2 separate regions of the Homo sapiens genome follow, and region 1 is linked to region 2. Evidence: promoter capture Hi-C in 16 types of primary human blood cells and fetal thymus (Javierre and others, 2016). All regions are on one chromosome and are shown on one strand. Each heading gives the region's core, a stretch centred on a gene start or on the middle of the fragment in contact. The rest is flanking DNA. Distances are from core to core; before and after follow the strand shown.

Region 1 (5,142 bases), core at 232-2,731, 510 kb after region 2:
GGGGGATGATATATGGGCGGGCACAGGAGAGAGTGCGGGCGTGGACATGTGTTCACGCCCGGACACACACACACACACACACACACACACACACACACACAGAGCCTGGCACGGAGGTGGGGAAGCAGAGGGCAAGGCAGGCTCTAAACTGGAACCTGAGGGAACAGAGACAAGAGCAGGCCCGCCGGGGCATCTGCTTGACTCCAGCGGCGCGCGTCAGCTAGCGGCTTGGATAAAGTCCAGTGCAAGGATCAAACTCCCCCCACTTCCCCACCCCCCGCCTCTCTCCCTTAAAAGCAGGAGGCTCCGGTGTATGCACTCACACTGGCTTGAAATCTCCCTCCCTCCCTCCCTCCATGGTATCTAGCAACCCCCTGCCCAAAACTGGGAAAAGGCTCTCGACAGCTATTAATGTCCTCCTCGAAGTCTACCTTAAGCCCACCTAAATTGGTTTCCTACCATAAACACACTTTACAACGGCCCAGGAAATCTTATAGGATGTATAAACCTCTTCGAATGCTTATAAAGTAGCACATAAAAAGGCGCAAGCAGAGGGAGGCCTCCGCCCCCCCCCCCTCCCCCGCGGCCCCCGGGCCCACCGCTTGCCCAGTACCCGGTGCCTACCTGCGCTGCTGCTCTTCTCGGCCCCCGCCTCTCCCGGGGGGCCCTCGCCGTCGCCACCGCTGCCTTCTGCTGCCCCCTTGGGCTCCGAGCCAGGGGTCGCCTTGGTGCAGGGACTGCCCCCGCCGCCACCAGCCCCGGTCCTGGGGTCGCCCTTGTCGGCTGCGCCCTCGGGCTGTGGCGGCGCGGGTGGCGGCGGGGGCTGCGGCCCGGCGAACGGGGGCCCGGGCGCTGCCTCGTAGAACTGGTCGAAGCCCTGTGGCAAGATGCCATTGCGGCCCACCGCGCTGTAGAAGTTGGAGGCGGCGCCCGCGGGGCCGTGCGGCGGCCCCGGCGCAGCGCACACCGGCTCAGGCGCCTTGAAGAGCACGTCCGGCCGGCGGCCCGCGGGCGGGAGAAGCTCGCGTTGCATGGCCGCCTCCTCGGCCGCCGCGGCCGCCGCAGCCGCCGCCGCCGCCGCCGCGTAGTAGGGAGCGTAGCCCCCCGCGCCGCCGCCGCCCCCGCCGGGGCCGCCCCCGCTGCTGCCGCCCCCCGCGCTGCCGCCGCCGCCGCCGCCGCGGTACGGCCACTTGGCGCGCTCCAGGCCGTAGTCGCGGAAGGCCACTTCGCGCACGGGCTGGACGTGCGGAGCCAGGTTGGAAGAGTAGGGGAAAGTCATCTGGCAGGACGACGGTTGGGAAAGGAACGAAGGCTTGCTAGCGAAGTCAGACGGGGCCACATAGTAGGCGCAGCCCGGCAGGTACATGCTGGCTGCGCTCTGGCCGCACTCGTCAAAGTCGTTCATGACTCCGCGGCGTGCGCGCCAGCGAGCCTCTGGCCGCTCCCCGCGCAGCCAACCTGAGCCATCGATTGCACAAGAGGCTTGGGCCAGGATCAACTAAGCAAAAATCCCCACCGGGCGCTGACGTGCAATTCATCTTGATTGATTCTGGTGGTAATTATGTCACGTGACGCCATGAAGAGAAATGTCCTTATATCTATATCAACGCTCGCCAACACGCCCCGGGACGGCTCCTGGCGCCGAGACGCGCGCGCTGGGGGCGGATCGGCTGCCCTCTGCCGCCAGCTCTCCCCGGGCGCTCCCTGACCAGGCTGCGCCTCAGGCCGGTCACCTGCGCGCCGCTGGCCGCTGTCACCGCTGGGCGCATCTGCCACCGCCCGAACGGGCCGCCCGCCCGCGTCCGCCCTCCCGCGCCGCTTTAAGTACGCGGACCGAGGCCGGCGGGGAGGAGGAAGGAGGGGGAAGAGGGGGAGGAAGGGGGAAGGGAGAGAAGCAGCGAGCAGAGGGGGGGAAGCCCCGGCTCCAGGCTCCCTAGAAGCTAGGAACTAGGTGTGAGGGTGTGAGGTTCCGAACCCCACCCCCCTTACTGCAGCCGCTCCCTCCCCCGCGACTCTGCCACCCTCTGCAGCTCACCCGCCTGGGAGCTTGTTGCTTCTTGTTCACCGGGCGGGAGTAATTTCGCCACTCTCCAGGGCGCAGGGAGCCCTGATTTACATATTTTTCTGCCCAGCGCGTTCAGAGTGGAGTGACTTGGCTCTTTCCGGTTCTGACCCCAAGGGTGCGAGTGCTGGCCTCGGAAAAACCCAGGCCATTCACCACCTAGGCACTCACCCAGGCCGGGGCCTTCGTGCCCACCCGGCTCTCTTCCCTTCTCTCTGGTTTCCCTCTCTGTTCTTGTCTCTCTTTCTCCTTGCCTCGTTTCTCTTCAGTCTTCTCCCTTCTCTCTCCTGTCTTCACTTCTCTCCTTCCTCTTCTTTTCCGCTTTCCTTCTTCCTTCCTCTTGCTTTCCTGTCTCCCTTCTCCTCTCTCTCTCTGTCCTCTCATCCTCTCCCCTCCTTTCCTCTAAGCTGTGTGTCACTGTCTCTGTCTCTCTCCCCGTTGCCTCTCTGCCTTCTCCTTCAGCACTGAAGCCAGGAGGGGGCTCAGCCCGTGGTCCCCAGCCTCCCTAGAATCTGGGGAGTCTGGTGAACAAAAGGATCTGGAGTCCTACTCTTAGGGTGCTTGGCTTCCCGCTGGCTCCCCACAAGAGACAACCCCCACACACTCGCACCTTCGTCCTCCTCACCCCTCTGCTTTCAGGCCTAGCCTGGGTGTCCGCCTTATACCTAGACCCTTCACTGCTTCGGAGCCCCGCCAAGGCCTGCGAATCCACGCCGCGTTTCCCCGAGGCTCTTCTGGTACCCTTGGGTCTGCATGGTCACTTCAGCCCCTCCCCCAAGATAGGTTGTCTCTCTAAGGGCTCTCAGCGGAGCCTGACTCCCTCCTGGAGCCCCTCTGTGTCACCTGGCTCTGAGGCAGACTCTTCGTGGGGCACCCCATCCACTCCCCCAAGGCCTCACTCTCCTCCCAGCCTGCCGCGACCCTCTCCTAGCCCATGGGTCCAGGCAAGGCCTGGGATCCCACCTCCGAGTGAGCAGACGCTTTTCAAAGGTAAACCGTCTCTTCCCAAACCCAAATCCCAGAACCGAGGGCAGGAGGCTGCCCCTTTCCCCAAGATTCCTCCGCCCAGGCAATCCCAGCGCTGGGGCCTGGGCCTCAGTCCTATACCCAGGGCAGGCGGCGCTGGCTGTGATGCTGGTTCCCTCCCTGGCCCGGGCTGCTGCAGTGCCGGTGCTGTGCGCTCTGCCCACCGTGCGGACAGACAGAGAAAAGGCGGGTGGTCTGAGCTAATATCTATTTTCTGGCTGATGTACCCCCCCTTCCTCTTTTTCTCCTCCCTCCCTTTCTCCCTTCCTCTCTCCTTCCTCCGCCCCTTCCCATGTCTTCTTCCCTCCCCCAACACTGCGCAAATAGGTCTGTGGCGACTGGAGGGCATCGAGCCTCCCCCAACTAGAACTGCCCATCTTGTGTGCTCCCTCCCCGCAGCTGGCACCCCCGCCCAGATTCCAGCTGACATTCTTCTCCTCAACCCAGACCCCCAGCACACTTATCTGCCTCCCCATCTCCATCCCAGGCCCAAGCCTCTCCCTTTCGGGCTCGTGGTCGACGCCCCTGGATCTCTCTCCTAAAATGGCTCCCTGGACGCTGCACACTGGCCCTGCGGTAGCTCAGGACCCAGGGCAGCTGCGAGGACTTCAACCCGGGTCTTTATGTGTCTGGGGATTCGCAAAATTCTCGCACCTTCTCTCTACTGGCGGCACGGGGTGGGGTGCAGGCAGCCCGGCGCCCCCAGTATGGAGCCTGCTGACCGCCGAAGAGGGAAAAGGGGAGGACGAACCATTCAAGTTCAACGACATGGCGACGGCAGCTCCGGCGGGAGCAGCGATTTGGCGGGGGAGGGTGAGCCATCTGCAGTGGCGCGCCGGTGCATAGGGGAAGGGGGCGGCCGGCCCCTTTCGGCTCCTTAGCGCGGACCCTTGCCCCCCGACCCACTCCACAACCCAGAGCGCTTTCATTCCAGTCCCAGCCCGCTTGGCTCTTTGGCCCCAGCTCCCTCCTAGTTCCTACCCCCATTCCCCAAACCCAGGGAAAACCGCAGCCTCCGGACCCGCGCGTCCCGCTCGAGAACCTACCGTGAAGACCCCGACTCTGTGGCCTTGTCCTTGCCTGCGCGGCCCCACCCGAAACGCAGGGAGCGCACCAGGCCTTCGGGGCGCAGCCAGCCGCTCCGCGAGAAAGAGCTTTCCGCACAGCGCCAGGACGCGATGCGGTGATTTTGAGTCACCCAAGATAAGACACTAACTTGACCTTAACTTTGTCAGGGCGCCCCTGGTATCTGGAGAACGTGAACAGACACTGTCTGGCAGCTCTCGTAAAAGCTGACTGGGGAAGGGATTCTGAGTCATTTCATTTATTGCCACTACAGTTCTGCAAGAAAGCTTTTCCTCCCTGCCAAACTTTAATTATTTATGCTCTTTTAAGAAACGAAAGAAGAGAAATGCAGGGAAAACACCCAGAGCCAGTTCCTTCCCTACAGAGCCTTCGGAATGGACTTCTTAAGTCAAGCGACTGGAGAACAAAAATATGGGGAGATCACCTTTGTCTAAGGACAGTGGGGCAGTCGCCTTGCCCTCCCCCACTATCACTGAGGGGGGAATGCAGCTGGGAGAGGCGGGTGAAGGGTGAAGGGGCATCCCCCCACATGAATATTTACAACGGTTCCAGATTTCTCTTCCACCCGCCGGCATCCCGGAAGCCTCCTCAGCCCGCCTCCCTGGGGGAGAACCCCCAGGCCTTAAAAGCGTCCCCCCTTCCCCGCCGCCCTCTGAGTTCCCAACTGATTGAATGCCAGATGAAGCTGTTTTTTTCTCGTTTTAAAACTGTTTTCTTGGTCAAGAGGCCCGCTTGGACTGCAGCATTTCAGAGGACACATTTGTCTTTCTGAAGGGAATGTTGAGCACTCAGATTTTAGCGTCCTTTCTCTTCGGCTTTTTTTTTTTTTTTTTTTTTTTAACAAATTTCCTAGTGGTTCCAAATCTCTGCGGGAACCCGGGCTATGGAAGGAGACACCAGAGTCTTTGTATTTGTGTGAAATAGCAAACGGGATAGATTTGGAAAAGACTGCTGAACCAAGAGATACG
Region 2 (5,182 bases), core at 602-3,101:
ACGAAAGCTTGCTGGAAAATGTCTCAGCTCTCTGATATTGTGAATGCCTGTCTGCAAGAGGCGCAGGAAAATCAGGCGAAATCGGTTAGGGTGTTCTGCTCAGTAAGGCTGAATGTGATGGATGGCTCGGTGTGCTGTTTATCTACTGCAGGTTGGTATTTCACCTCTGTTTTCATTAGACTGATGGTAAGGTAATAATTCTTTCCTCTGGCTGAAAAATCTGTCTTCAGCCATTTGTTGATCTTCTTGAACGGGAAGTTCAGGTGCACAGAAGTCACCCTAAAGGAGATTTTGAATGAAAACTTAAATAATGCTGGTCGGCATCCACGGAGCTCTCCGGCAGCACAGGCCTCCGCTAGACTGGCTGTGATTATTAGGTGTGCAGCGTCACATTTGCCCAAGGACAGCAAGCCTACGGAATGATACAGGGTAACCACCGCTGTAGGAAACAAAGCGTGAACATCACATTTGATTTCTTTGGAAACACTCAAGCTTATATTGTAAATTAAATTAAAGCAATGCAGTCTTTATGAGGTGTTTCCATGTAGCACTGTGTTACGGTGGAAAATGCCCCAGCCCGGGCCTCGGAAGTCTCCACCATGATACTCCCTCTGGGCAAATCTCTTAATGTCTCTGAGCCTCCATTTCTTCATCTCTCAAGAGATAATAATAATGTATGCACTGGTTTTTAATAGAAAGCTCTTATCAAGATGATATAGCTTTGAGTTTTTTCCCAAGGCGAGGAGGAACAAACAGAACAATGACAGAGGCTAGTGGCTTTAGTAAGCTGCAGCTCTATAGCTCCTCCCTCTTTCCAACCTCTCTGATGGAGGGCACAGAAAGGAAGATGACAGAGTTGGCTCATTAAGCATTGATCAAGGAAGGACTCTCCCCACACCCGACAGAACAGATCCATCCAAGCAGTTTTCTGAGTTTGTGAGCTGATGGGCAAAGTGATAGAGCTTCCACTCACAGGGCTCGTCAGTTGCTCCATCGGGAAGGGGACTGCTGAAAGGTTTCATCCACCCGAGACAGAGTGGCCAGTAGAAAAGACAGAATCTTGTAACTGCTGGTTCTAACTCGTGGGACTTCCATTAAGGATGAGGGTCCCTTTCTTCCTATAAACCTGTGAGGACAGCCCATCCATTACTTCTATACTGTGGGTTACCTGCATAAGAAACGGTTCTCATTTAATGTAACGAGGTGCCCATATGTCCTGATTTGTTCCTGACAGTCCTATTTATGCTTTTTGTCCCAGAATAAATATTACAGCACTACCATTAACTCTCAGAGTCTCTGGGTTTGGTCAGTAAATTATATGACACAAACGCATTAATTTTATAATAGGCACCTTCTCAATTCCCAGCAAATGCTTCATATGTATCACCACTAACCTCTCTACCATCGGTTTGGTTGATTTGTGATATACAAATACAAATACATTTTTACTTTATATTTTTCACATAGCAATTTCTAGTCATCAATATCATTTTCACAGCACTCCTGAGTTGAGGGAGAGTAATTACAAAGAATTGTGATTAATAAAATGATGAAGGATTTTCTTTCAAATACATTTATGAGAATAAACTAACATAACTTTTGTATAGTGTCAATTAAATGCAAACTTACTGGCCAAGCACAGTGGCTCAAGCCTGTAACCCCAACACTTTGGGAGGCCAAGGTGAGAAGATCACTTGAGACTAGGAGTTGAAGACCAACCTGGGCAACATGATGAAACACTATCTCTACAAAAACTAAAAATACAAAAAATTAGCTGGGCATGGTGGCACACACCTGTAGTCCCAGCTACCTGGGAGGCTGAGGTGGGAGGATCAACTGAGCCCTGGAGGTCAAGGCTGCAGTGAGCCGTGAGCATGCCACTGCACTCCAGCCTGGATGACAGAGTGAGACCCTGTCTCAAAAAAAAAAAAAAAAGTAAACTACTGTAATTTATAATTCTGAAATAACAATGTCAACTAAAGCAGTATTATTACTATTTTTAGAGACAGAGGCTTGCTCTGTCAACCAGGCTGGAGTGCAGTGGCATGATCATAGCTCACTGCAGCCTGAGACTCCTGGGCTCAAGCCATCCTTCTGCCTCAGCCTCCAGAGTAACTGGGACTACAGGCATGCATCACTATACCCAGCTAATTCTTTTAACTTTTGTTTGTTTGTTTGTTTTTTGTAGAGAGGGACTCTCTCTATGTTGCACAGGCTGGTCTTGAACTTCTGGTCTTAAGTGATCCTTCCACCTTGGCCTCCCAAATTGCTGGGATTATAGGCAAAAGTCACCATGCCCAGCCAATAATTATTTTTATTTATTTGTTCTTCATTTAAGCAATCATTCAACAAATGATTGTTTGTGAAATGTTTCCAGGTACTGTGCTACATAAGAGAAATTTAGACAGAGACTTTTACCATAGGAATTTATAGGAAATGGGTTTAAGAGACAAGTAGATTATAATGAGACAAGATTATAATATGGCTAGAGTAGCACAGAACAGGAGCACCTAACCCAGCCAGCTTCATGCCACCAGACAGCCAGGAATGGAGGGATGTGGTAGTGAGGCATGGCTTCCAAGTGGCGGTGATGTGGAGCTGTCTTGAAGGACATGTAGGAATTAGTCAAGGGAGAAATATAAGAAAAATACTTTATAGTGTCTTTTCCAATATTAGAAAATAAAATAATTAAGACAGATGTTAAAGCCAGGAAACATTCTCTTCCTTGAATATTCTCTTCCTGTGTGATACAGTTTGGATGTTTGTCCCCTCCAAATCTCATGTTGATATTGATTGCCAGTGTTGGGGGTGACTGGACCATGGAGGCGGATCCCTCATGAATGGTTTTGCATCATCCCCTTGATGATAAGTGAGTTCCCACCCAGTTAATTCATGAGACATCTGGTTGTTTAAAAGTCTAGGACCTCCCCGTCTCTCTTTCTTGCTCTAGCTCTCACCATGTGACGTGCCTGCTTCCACTTCTCCTTCTACCATGATTGGAAGATTCCTGAGGCCTTCACCAGAAGCCTAGCAGATGCTGGTGCCATGCTTGTACAGCCTGCAGAAACATGAGCCAATTAAAGCCCTTTCGTTTATAAATTACCCAGCATCAGGTATTTTTTCATAGCAACGCAAATGGCCTAATACACTGTGCATTTGGCAGGAAGCTGTTGCTGGTGGTCTGGGGGACTGAATGATTGAATAAGCTTTCAATTTAGGAAGCTCTTGAGAGAATTCTGTAATAGCACTTTCCAGTAGAAATATGTGATTCACGAATAGAATTTTAAATGTTCTAGTAGCTCCGTAATAACATTACAAAAAAAAAGGTGAAATTCATTTTAATAATCTTATATTTCACCCAGTATTTCCAAAATATTATCATTTCAACGTGGAATCAATATAAAAATAATGAGCTATTTTGCAATTTTGTTTTTATATGAAGTCTTCAAAATCTGGTGTGTATTTTACATGTATATGTTTCAATTTGTACCAGCAAATTGCAGAGCTCAATAGCCACATGTGGCTAGTGGCTCTTATATTGAGGAGTCCAGTTTTATAACATCAACATTAAATCTCACCATGGTCACCAATGAAAATGAACCCAGAGTATTCTGGCTGGATTTATTCATGATAACTAATCCCTCACTTACATAAACAGTGTATGCTTCAAGAAGGGAGAACAAAGATTCTGTAAAGATCTATGTCCTAGGCATTTCTCTTATATTTGACAGCCAATAGTGTTTATGACAAGCCCTATACTTCATAAGCAAGCTATGACACAGTATTGTAAATACAAATGTTTTAACTGTGGGTATAGTAAAAGCATTTTGGGCTTCCCAGATTGGCTAGATTCCACCATCACTGGGGCCTGTTTGTGATTATGCATCTATGATACAACTCAGAACCAATTATTCCATCATAAAAGGCATGGTCAAGGCAAACTCTCACACATAATGTCACCTGTGATCATTTTTTTCTTACTGAAATAGCTGCAGTGCTGTTGTATACAAGCGTATTTCTTTTAATGAGATAAGACAAAATGATAGCATTGAGATGAGAGACTTGTAATGACTTCCCACTGGGAGCAATGATCTCTGGTTCTTAGTTTCTCCACCTGTGAAATGGCAGTAATAATTTTGGCCCTAAGGTCTTAGTACCATGAGGATATGAACAAATACTTTTCATTTGTCTGATTCTCAGTTTAGCACAGGACTTATGATTGCAAAAGTATTTCTTCAATCTCCAGAAGTGTTTGTGAGAGAGAGGGCCATCCAGTGAATTACTTTTTCTTTATTTTCTTTAGTGGGTCACTCACAGTTTGTGACAAGAGCATTAGCAATTGCATAGCTGGTGCCAGGGGCACTGTGGAGTCATTGAGGAAGTCACTGTTAGCTACAACCCGTATGAAAGCCAATTACTCTCTAGAGAGGCAACATGCCATCCTGAGAGAATACAGGGCTGGTGCCTCAAAGTTTTTCCACAGACAAGGTACGCAGCCTGGGGCAAACTATTTTAACTGCAGCTTTCTCAGCTGTGAAAAATGAGAATGGCAATCCTTACTGCTTTGGAAGAGAGTTGTGTTTATTAATTAGTTTGTATTTCAAAGTGCTTCACAACTGGAAAGTTTCACTATTGGATTAAGGAAAAATTTCCTTTCATTTTATCCCTCTCCACATTAGGATGAAAAGAAACTGTGCTTGCTGAGGCTGGGAGAAAAACGGAGGGGATTCAGGCAAAAAAGCTAACAAACCTGACTTCCATGGTAGTGGCTCATTTCCCCGGCTGTAAGATGGCACCCATTAAAGGGAGCTTTGTAAATTAGGTATCTTAAAGGGCAGCCAAACCTGCCATCTGAAGAATTACTTTTGTTTTAGACTTAATTTTTATGATTGCTTCAAGAAAAAAAGGGAAAGAAAATGAGCCAAATCACACTGTGATAGGGGATTTGAAAATGAGAAGTAGCATAAACAATATCATGTTTTCTTGCCTGAAAAATAGGAGGTTGGATCTGCTTATATGCCAGCCTTTAGACTCTCAAATCTCCTTGTTCTATTTCTAGCTTATCTCGGTAGGTCCACCAGTATTTTCCTACCAAGTGTTCTACTATCATTAATTGTTTAAAAAAAGAGAAGAGAGAGAATTCATTTCTATTCTTCTTGTGGCTGTCCCTTAGTTTTTCATT

The links. Contacts are between HindIII fragments. The CHiCAGO score rates a contact against its expected background, and 5 or more counts as called.
Region 1: a contact is called between the fragment with the promoter of HOXD11 here and a fragment that was not itself captured in region 2, in 1 of 17 cell types (fetal thymus). The highest score is 5.2, in fetal thymus.

What each region holds. Positions count from the first base shown.
Region 1 is chr2:176,103,619-176,108,760 of GRCh38, reverse strand. It overlaps HOXD11 (homeobox D11), which reads right to left and starts at 1,481. Exons shown (of 2, transcript NM_021192.3): 1 at 625-1,481. The coding sequence starts at 1,405. RefSeq lists an enhancer at 3,625-4,611. The HindIII fragment of the contact is 7,005 bases long and covers 1-4,442 here.
Region 2 is chr2:176,614,394-176,619,575 of GRCh38, reverse strand. The region is part of intron 4 of LINC01116 (long intergenic non-protein coding RNA 1116); the gene reads left to right. Among named protein-coding and RNA genes, the nearest start is that of MIR1246, 16 kb to the right of the region's middle. The HindIII fragment of the contact is 2,714 bases long and covers 495-3,208 here.